Regions from separate parts of the Homo sapiens genome. Here all the other regions are linked to region 1. Evidence: promoter capture Hi-C in 16 types of primary human blood cells and fetal thymus (Javierre and others, 2016). All regions are on one chromosome and are shown on one strand. The core of a region is centred on a gene start or on the middle of the fragment in contact, and the rest is flanking DNA. Distances in the headings are between cores, read along the strand shown. Region 1 holds the start of RANGRF (RAN guanine nucleotide release factor). Region 2 has its middle 19 kb from the start of ALOX15B. Region 3 has its middle 4.5 kb from the start of TRG-GCC2-6.

Evidence for each region. The method cuts DNA at HindIII sites, captures the fragments that hold promoters and counts their contacts. A CHiCAGO score of 5 or more calls a contact.
Region 2: a fragment that was not itself captured here is called in contact with the fragment with the promoter of RANGRF in region 1 in 7 of 17 cell types (activated CD4 T cells, naive CD4 T cells, total B cells and 4 more); the score reaches 8.2 in activated CD4 T cells.
Region 3: a contact is called between a fragment that was not itself captured here and the fragment with the promoter of RANGRF in region 1, in 9 of 17 cell types (non-activated CD4 T cells, naive CD4 T cells, neutrophils and 6 more). The highest score is 9.2, in non-activated CD4 T cells.

What each region holds. Positions count from the first base shown.
Region 1 is chr17:8,287,342-8,290,047 of GRCh38, reverse strand. RANGRF (RAN guanine nucleotide release factor) reads right to left here and starts at 1,378. Exons shown (of 5, transcript NM_016492.5): 1 at 1,183-1,378; 2 at 976-1,092; 3 at 634-790; 4 at 460-545; 5 at 1-235. The coding sequence starts at 1,259. The coding sequence ends at 112. It also overlaps a transcript of SLC25A35 not described here. RefSeq lists enhancers at 656-725, 1,006-1,125, 1,486-1,715 and a silencer at 876-925. The HindIII fragment of the contact is 37,216 bases long and covers 1-2,706 here.
Region 2 is chr17:8,057,065-8,059,770 of GRCh38, reverse strand. No RefSeq gene overlaps it. Among named protein-coding and RNA genes, the nearest start is that of ALOX15B, 19 kb to the right of the region's middle. RefSeq lists enhancers at 2,024-2,093, 1,577-2,094. The HindIII fragment of the contact is 2,579 bases long and covers 41-2,619 here.
Region 3 is chr17:8,128,890-8,131,595 of GRCh38, reverse strand. No RefSeq gene overlaps it. Among named protein-coding and RNA genes, the nearest start is that of TRG-GCC2-6, 4.5 kb to the right of the region's middle. The HindIII fragment of the contact is 6,180 bases long and covers 1-2,706 here.

The sequences.
Region 1 (2,706 bases), core at 129-2,628:
ATGTTTACGCACAGGGAAGAAATAAGAGGAAACCCTCTTTTCAACCTCTTTTCCCCCTCACAGAACCGAGTCCCCAAGTTCTCAGCAACATCATGCAGTGCTTCAGCGCCTTTACTGGGGACCAAAGATGTTAGGATCGTGAAGGGTCAGACTGGTCACCAGCTGTTCAAAGTCACCCAGGCTCCAGGGTGCAGGTGACAGATTTTCGGGGCCAAGAGATGACCTGTTGTCAGGGCTTGGGGTGGGGGAACAGATGGAGACAGAACATCATCCAGGCCTGAGGTTTGGAAATTGCCAATTCCTGTTCCCCAGAGGACCTGGGTATCAGTTACCCCAAACCTCTGGCCCACTCCTGCTTCCTTGGAGGATCCCACCAGTGAGTCTCCCTGTTCTGTCCCTCCCAGCCCGATTCTCCTGGGAACCCAGTCATGAGATACCCGCCCGTTCCTTCCTCCTTACGGGGGCTGATTGAAGGTAAGCAAGAGATCAGTCTGGTACTGGGGCAGCCTCAGCAAGGCCTGATGAAGTGTCACGTCCTTTGCTACCTAAGGGGATCAGAGTCAGGATGCTTACCTGGATCTCTGCGTCCCCGCTACCGCCCTTCCAGGACATTACACACTCTCGGGCCCTCACCTGCTGGTTTTCCTTAGCTATCTGCTGCTTGCCAGAGAGGACCCAGGCTTCTTGACAGCGGCCCCTCAGGGCCAGGTTCTCCAAACTGAGAGGCTGAACAGACTCCACATGGACAGCCCTAGCCCCCTGCACGCCACCAACATCCTCAAAGTGGTACCTGGAGTAGGGAAGCGGGGTCAGGAAGGGACATCTCTGGTCGCCTCCCCGGGAGCATCTTTAAGTTGCAGGCCTGGCTCCCGGCCCGTGCGTGGTCTCACCGCCCGGATTAACCGTCGGCCGCGGGCCCCGCCCACTGGTCCGACCCCGCCCCTGCCATTGGCCAGCCGGGGGCCATTCCCTCACCGCGCAGCCGCTTCGCCCCGTACGTGGGCCTGCAGCTCGAGAAGTTCCACTATCAGGCTCTGGTCCGTCACGGGATGGCAGAAAACTTCTTGATTGTCCGGGACCGGTCGGAGGTCGCTGGAGTGAGGCGAGGCAGACCCTGGTTGACCCCGGTCTCTTCCCACAACCCACCCAGTCAGCCGCCCCTGGGCGCCCCGGCCTTCTCACCTTACGTCAATGGCCCCCATGGGGAGGATGGCGGAAAAGGCGCCCCCGAACAGCGGGCAGTCTCTCGTGGGCTCCATGGGTCTGAGGCTGGGTTATGGGCATTAGAAAGGTTTAAAAGAAGTCCACATTGGGTCACGTGGCATCGGCTCCCTGGGTTTCGCAGCTGCCACCGCCACCCGGGTCTGGCTTAGCTCCCGGATCCTTTAAGATTTGGCTCCGCCCTGCGCTCTCGTTGGCCAATCGGCGCCAAGACCCTGGGGGCGGGGGTCAGCGGCTTTGCTCCGGAAGCCGCGCTCTTAGGAGTGCGCCTGGCGGGACGGTGGGGTCTGCCTTGGGGTTGGACTTAGGGTTAGGGTCTATGTCGCCCCCGGTGGTCACGAGCATGCTCCCGCCAGCCTCCTCTTGATTGATTGATTGATTGATTGATTGACAGGTCTCGCTGTGTCGCCCAGGCTGTAATGCAGTGGCGCGATCACCGCTCACTGCAGTCTCCACCTCCAGGACTCAAGTGATACTCCTGCCTCAGCCTCTTGAGTGGCTCCTGCTCCCGCCACCACGCCCGGCTAAATTTTTAATTACTTGTAGAAATGGGGCGGGGTGGGGAGTGTCTCCCAATCTTGCCCAGGCTGGCCTCAAACTCCTGGACTCAAGCGATCCTCCCGCCTCGGCTCCCTAAGTGCTGGAATTACAGGCGAGAGCCACAGCGCCTGGCCTCCTCGTCCTTTTCAAGTGGTCACACCTTCCAAGAAGGTCGCCTGAGACCCTCCTGAGGGGCAGGTGCTCGTCAAAGGGGCCCACGTCTAGGTAGGGTCTCTTGAGTCAGGAAAGCATAGTTTCACGGTGTTCTGGGCCTCTGAAAGAAGAATGGGCTGCCACCCAGACCGCTAATTCATAGATCTGCTGCTGGGAATTAGGGGAACAATGCGTCCAGGTTAGGATTCAGGTCTCACATCTTCCTGAAAGTGAGAGCCAACCTGGGTATTAGAAATCTAATTCCTCTCAAATATTTGCCTTGGGAATGCTCCCGGGCAGGTGCAACCCCACCCCCAGCTCCACACACCTGGACAGAAGCACAGATTAAACCCTCTTTTGTTTGTCTTTTACAGATTTGTTGTGTTCTTTAAGTTTTAACTTCACTATATCATTTCAGTTCATTTCTCTATTCATCTTTGATCCTCAGCACCCGGCACGGTGTTTAGAGCATAACAGACCTGATATATATTGGGTTTTTTTGTTTTGTTTTGTTTTTGAGATGGAGTTTCACTCTTGTTGCCCAGGCTGGAGTGCAATGGCATGATCTTGGCTCACTGCAACCTCCGCCTCCTGGGTTCAAGCTGTTCTCCTGCCCCAACCTCCCAAGTAGCTGGATTACAGGCATGCACCACCACACCCAGCTAATTTTGTATTTTTAGTAGAGATGGAGTTTCTCCATGTTGGTCAGGTGAGTCTCGAACTTCCGACCTCAGATGATCCGCCTGCCTTGGCCTCCCAAAGTGCTGGGATTATTACAGGCGTGAGCCAGCG
Region 2 (2,706 bases), core at 81-2,580, 230 kb after region 1:
TCCCTGAATCATTGTGCACACAGGTCTGTTTTTAGAAGCTTGATTTACTCAATAGGCTGCTTTTCCTTCACTGTCAGTACTGCCAAAACCACTTTCTCTTTTTACTGTACTTTTTTCTACTATTACATAAGGTAATAACAACAGCTGAGCAATTCTATCTCCTGGGTTTGCACTCCAAGGAATACTGGAACTAATAACCAATTGAATTTCTCCCACAAAATCTGAATCAATCAGCCCAGTATGAATCTGAACTCCTTTTAAGTTTAGACTAGATGTTCCTAAAACAAGTCCAACTGTCCATCAGGTAAAGGGCCAAATACTCCAGTGGGGACTTTTTGAGGGGATTTCCCTGGAAGCAGAGAGATAGCTTTTGGGAAACATAAATCTAAGCCTGTACTCCCTGCTGTAGCTGGCGCCAATTGTGTTACTGTGGTGGTTGGGCAAGAGACAATGATGGTGGTTGGACTAGAGGCAATGACCGACTGAGGGACCAACTGCTGGAGTGAGAATGCCCCCGTTTGGAGCGGGGCCTGAGGCTGGCCCCTCTTCCTGTTTCCCGACTGCGGTTGTAACGGTTGGCCATTTTTGTCAAATTTGAAGTGACACTGATTAGCCCAATGTTTACCCTTCTGGCACCTGGGACATAAGCCAGGTGGTTCTTTTATTTGATTATATCTTGCCTGTTTGTTCGATTTGTTCTTACGTTCCTTTTTTGTGTGTCCAAATTGCCCACAATTGTAACAATTGCCTGAAAAGTTTTTAATTGGACCTCCCACTTTTAACTCTGTCGTGGCTTGAACCATTATCATAGCCTTATGCATGATTCCACCAACTCCATTACATGCCCTGATATATTCATTAATCACATCAACTCCCACCGGAACCTTTCCTTTCACTGGGTGAATAGCTGACTGGCATTCAGGGTTAGTATTCTCACAAGCCAATAATTCTACAATCACCTTCCTGGCACTTTCTTTCTTTCTTTCTTTTTTTTTTTTTTTTTTTGAGGCGGAGTTTCGCTCTTGTTACCCAGGCTGGAGTGCAGTGGCGTGATCTCGGCTCACCGCAACCTCCGCCTCCTGGGTTCAAGCAATTCTCCTGCCTCAGCCTCCTGAGTAGCTGGGATTACAGACATGTGCCATCACGCCCGGCTAATTTTTATATTTTTAGTAGAGACGGGGTTTCTCCATGTTGGTCAGGCTGGTCTCCAACTCCCGACCTCAGGTGATCCGCCCACCTCGGCCTCCCAAAGTGCTGGGATTACAGGCATGAGCCACCGCACCCGGCCTTCCTGGCACTTTCATCAGTGAGAGCCTTCTGTGCTGCGTCTTGAAGGCGAGCAATGAAATCAGGATATGGTTCCTTTGAGCCTTGTCTAATAGAATTAAAAGACTGATAAGTAGTTCCCAGATCCTGAATTTTCTCCCATGCCCTCAAACAGCAATTGCGAATTTGTTCAATGGCATCATCTCGAAGTCCTGATGGTTGTTTACAGTTCCCCATTGACCCCCTATTCCTAGAAGTTGTTCAAATGTAATGGCAATAGCAGGATTAGCAGCACGGTTTTTTCGATCTTGATTTTGAGCCTCGTCGGTCCACCAAGTCTTAAACTGAAGAAATTGGGAGGGCGAAAGTGTAACTTTCGTTAAAATCTCCCAATCACACGGAGTCAATAGCTTATTCTGAGCCACAGATTGCAATAGCGATCGGATGAAAGGCGAATTGGGACCATACTGACCAACAGCTGCTTTAAGATCTTTGAGCAGCTTAAAAGAAAATGGTTCCCATACCGCTTGATGGGCTCCACCTTGCTGTCGTGGGGGTTGCAAAACTACTGCAAACTGCCAGGCATCAAGATCTCCGGCTAATCTAGCCTGCCGAATAGTAAACTGTAATGGCGATTCATTAACATTAGATGGCAGTGCAGCCTTATGTTGTACTGGTGCTACACCATGCGCTCGTGGTTCCTGAGGCCACAATTCATTCATTCGTGAAACAGGGCAAATTTGAGATTCAGACCTCCAAGGCTCCAAGCTACATTGCTTTATTGGAGGCGGCCACTCCGGATGATCCCAATGAGGAGCCGACTGCTCCTCAAGGCCCTTCTTTGTTTTAAACATCTTGGCATATATGGCTTCTCTATTTTAGGAGCAGCTGAAGGTCCCACGTGCTCCTCAAAAGAAATTAACTCATCTCCAGGTTTGTCTGTATTTTCCTCAAAATCTTCTTCACTATCCTCTCCTCCTTCAGCAGCATCACCACCTTCCTCTGCAGAAATTCTTTCTGCTGGAGGATAAGCCTCATTTTCCGATTGAAACGGTTCCGAGGCTGCTTTAACTATAGCCCAGTTTGACCAGGCTGTTAGGGGGATAAATTTTCCTTCCTTACAAACTTGTTTTAAGGCAATTCCCACCTGTTCCCAATCTTTGAAGTCCATGGTACCATGTTCAGGAAACCAAGGACGATATTGCTCTACTGTTGGAAACAGAGTAATCAAATTTTCTGTGCTAGCCTTAATTCCTGCCCTCTTTAAGAGGAGCTTAATAAAATGTAAATATGCAGAATGTTTACTTTTGGATTGTCCCATGGTGTCCCTGGAATGCTCCGAGTGCACAAGCTTACCGCAAGGCCGACCACACGTTCTCGGGAGTTCCTGGACAGACCGTTCTTCACAACGACCACGCTCAGGTGTAACTTCACCTGGGT
Region 3 (2,706 bases), core at 150-2,649, 160 kb after region 1:
TAGAGACTGGCCTTTGTCAGTTGCAGTGAAATGCCGAAGGTATGCACAATTTGTTTTTTTTGAGACGGAGTCTTGCTGTTGCCCAGGCTGGAGTGCAGTGGCATGATCTCGGCTCACCGCAACCTCCACCTCCCGGGTTCAAGCAATTCTCCTGCCTCAGCCTCCCGAGAAGCTGGGATTACAGGCACCACCACCATGCTCGGCTAATTTTTTTTTTTTTTTTTTGAGATCTGCCCACCTCAGCCTCCCAAAGTGCTGGGATTACAGGTGTGAGCCACTGTGCCCGGCCTCCCTTATTATTTTTAATTGACAAATAATTATATGTATTTATGGGGTAAAATGTGATGTTTCCATATAAGGATACATTGTAGAACGATTAAATCAAGCTAATTAACACATCCGTCACCTCATCTACTTATTTTTTCGTGGTGAGAACATTTAAAATAGACTTTTGAGACTCTGTCTCAAAAAAAGAAAAAAGAAAAAGGAAAAAATTACTTATTCTTGTTGGATACAGGTTAAAAAAAGAAAAAAGTGTTCATTCACTTATTATTATTATTATTTTTGAGATGGAGTCTTGCTCTGTTGCCCAGGCTAGCATGCAGCAGCGCTATCTCAGCTCACTGCAAGCTCCGCATCCGGGGTTCACACCATTCTCCTGCCTCAGCCTCCCGAGTAGCTGGGATCACAGGTGCCTGCCACCATGCCTGGCTAATCTTTTTTGTATTTTTAGTAGAGACGGGGTTTCACCGTGTTAGCCAGGATGGTCTCGATCTCCTGACTTCCTGATCTGCCCACCTCACCCTCCCAAAGTGCTGGGATTACAGGTGTGAGCCCCTGAGCCCGGCCTCACTTATTATTTTTAATTGACAAATAATTATATATATTTATGGGGTAAAATGTGATGTTTCCATATAAGGATACATTGTAGAATGATTAAATCAAGCTAATTAACACATCCATCACCTCATCTATTTATTTTTTCGTGGTGAGAACATTTAAAATAGACTTTTAATAATTTCATAATATACAATACGTTATTACTAACCATGCTGTGGAATAGATAGCAAAATCTCCTTCTTCATACACCCTCTTTTCTGGATTTCCAGAACACCCCACTCCCCCTGGTTTTCCTGTTGCCTCTCTGACCGCTCTAGTCTCCGTTGCCAATTCTTCCTCCTCAACCAATCTCTAGGTGTTGGGGTGCCCCAGAGGTCCATGTTCAGCCTTTTCTTTTCTTCTTCTTCTTTTTTCTTTTTTTTTTGTTTGAGACAGATTCTCATGCCCAGGCTGGAGTGCAGTGGCTCAATCTCGGCTGACTGCAACCTTGGCCTCCCGGGCTCAAACGATTCTCCTGCCTCAGCCTCCTGAGTAGCTGGGACTACAGGCGTGCGTCACTATGCCCAGATAATTTTTCTATTTTTTGTGGAGACGGGGTTTTGTCATGTTGGGCAGGCTGGCCTCGAACTCCTGACCTTAGGTGATCCACCCGCCTCAGCCTCCCAAAGTGCTAAGATTACAGGCATGAGCCAACACACCCGGCCCATGTTCAGTCTTTTCCCGCCACATTTTCTCTCTAGGTGCTCCAGTCTTATAGCATTAAAAGACGTCTATCTCCCAATCACTCCAGCGTATTTACCCTCCAGCTCTGATCTCCAAACTTGTATATCCCTAACCTATGTGTGACCTCCACCTAGATATCTTTTTTTTGAGCGGAGTCTTCCTCTGTTGCCGAGGCTGGAGTGCAATAGCGCAGTCTAGGCTCACTGCAACCTCTGCCTCCCGGGTTCAAGAGATTCTCCTGCCTCAGCCTCTGGAGTAGCTGAGACCACAGGCGCATGCCACCATACCCAGCTAGTTTTTGTATTTTTAGTAGAGACGGTGTTTCACCATGTTGGCCAGGTTGATCTCAAACCCCTGACCTCGTGATCCACCCGCCTTGGCCTCCCAAAGTGCTGGGATTACAGAAGTGAGCCACCGCGCCTGGCCAGGATGTCTTAACTAATATGGCTAAAGTATAATGCTTGATTTCTCTTCCTAAACCTCTCCCCGACCCCACAGGTTTTCCCATCTCAGTTAAAAGCCACCACCACCGTCTACCCAGTTACAGTCATGCGCTGCATAACAATGTTTTGGTCAATGATGGACTGCATATATATATATATGATTATAATGGGGATTGCCGGATGCAATGGCGTACGCCTGTAATCCCAGCACTTTGGGAGGCCAAGGCGGGCAGATCACTTGAGGTCAGGAGTTCAATACCAGCCTGGCCAACATGGTGAAACCCTGTTTCTACTAAAAATACAAAAATTAGCCGGGCGTGGTGGCTAATGCCTGTAATCCCAGATATTCGAGCAGCTATTCGAGAGGCTGAGGCAGGAGAATCGCTTGAACCCGGGAGGCAGAGGTTGCAGTGAGCCGAGATCCCACCATTGCACTCCGTCCTGGGCAACAAGAGCAAGATTATAATGGGGCTAAAAAAAAATCCTTATCGCCAGGCTCGGTGATAAGCACTTCGGGAGGCCGAGGCTGGCAGATAACGAGGTCAGGAGATCGAGACCAGCCTGAGCAACATGGTGAAACCCCGTCTCTACTAAAAATACAAAAGTTAGTGGGGTGTGGTGGCACAGGCCTGTAATCCCAGCTACTCGGGAGCCTGAGGCAGGAGAATCGCTTGAACCCGGCAGGCGGAGGTTGCAGTGA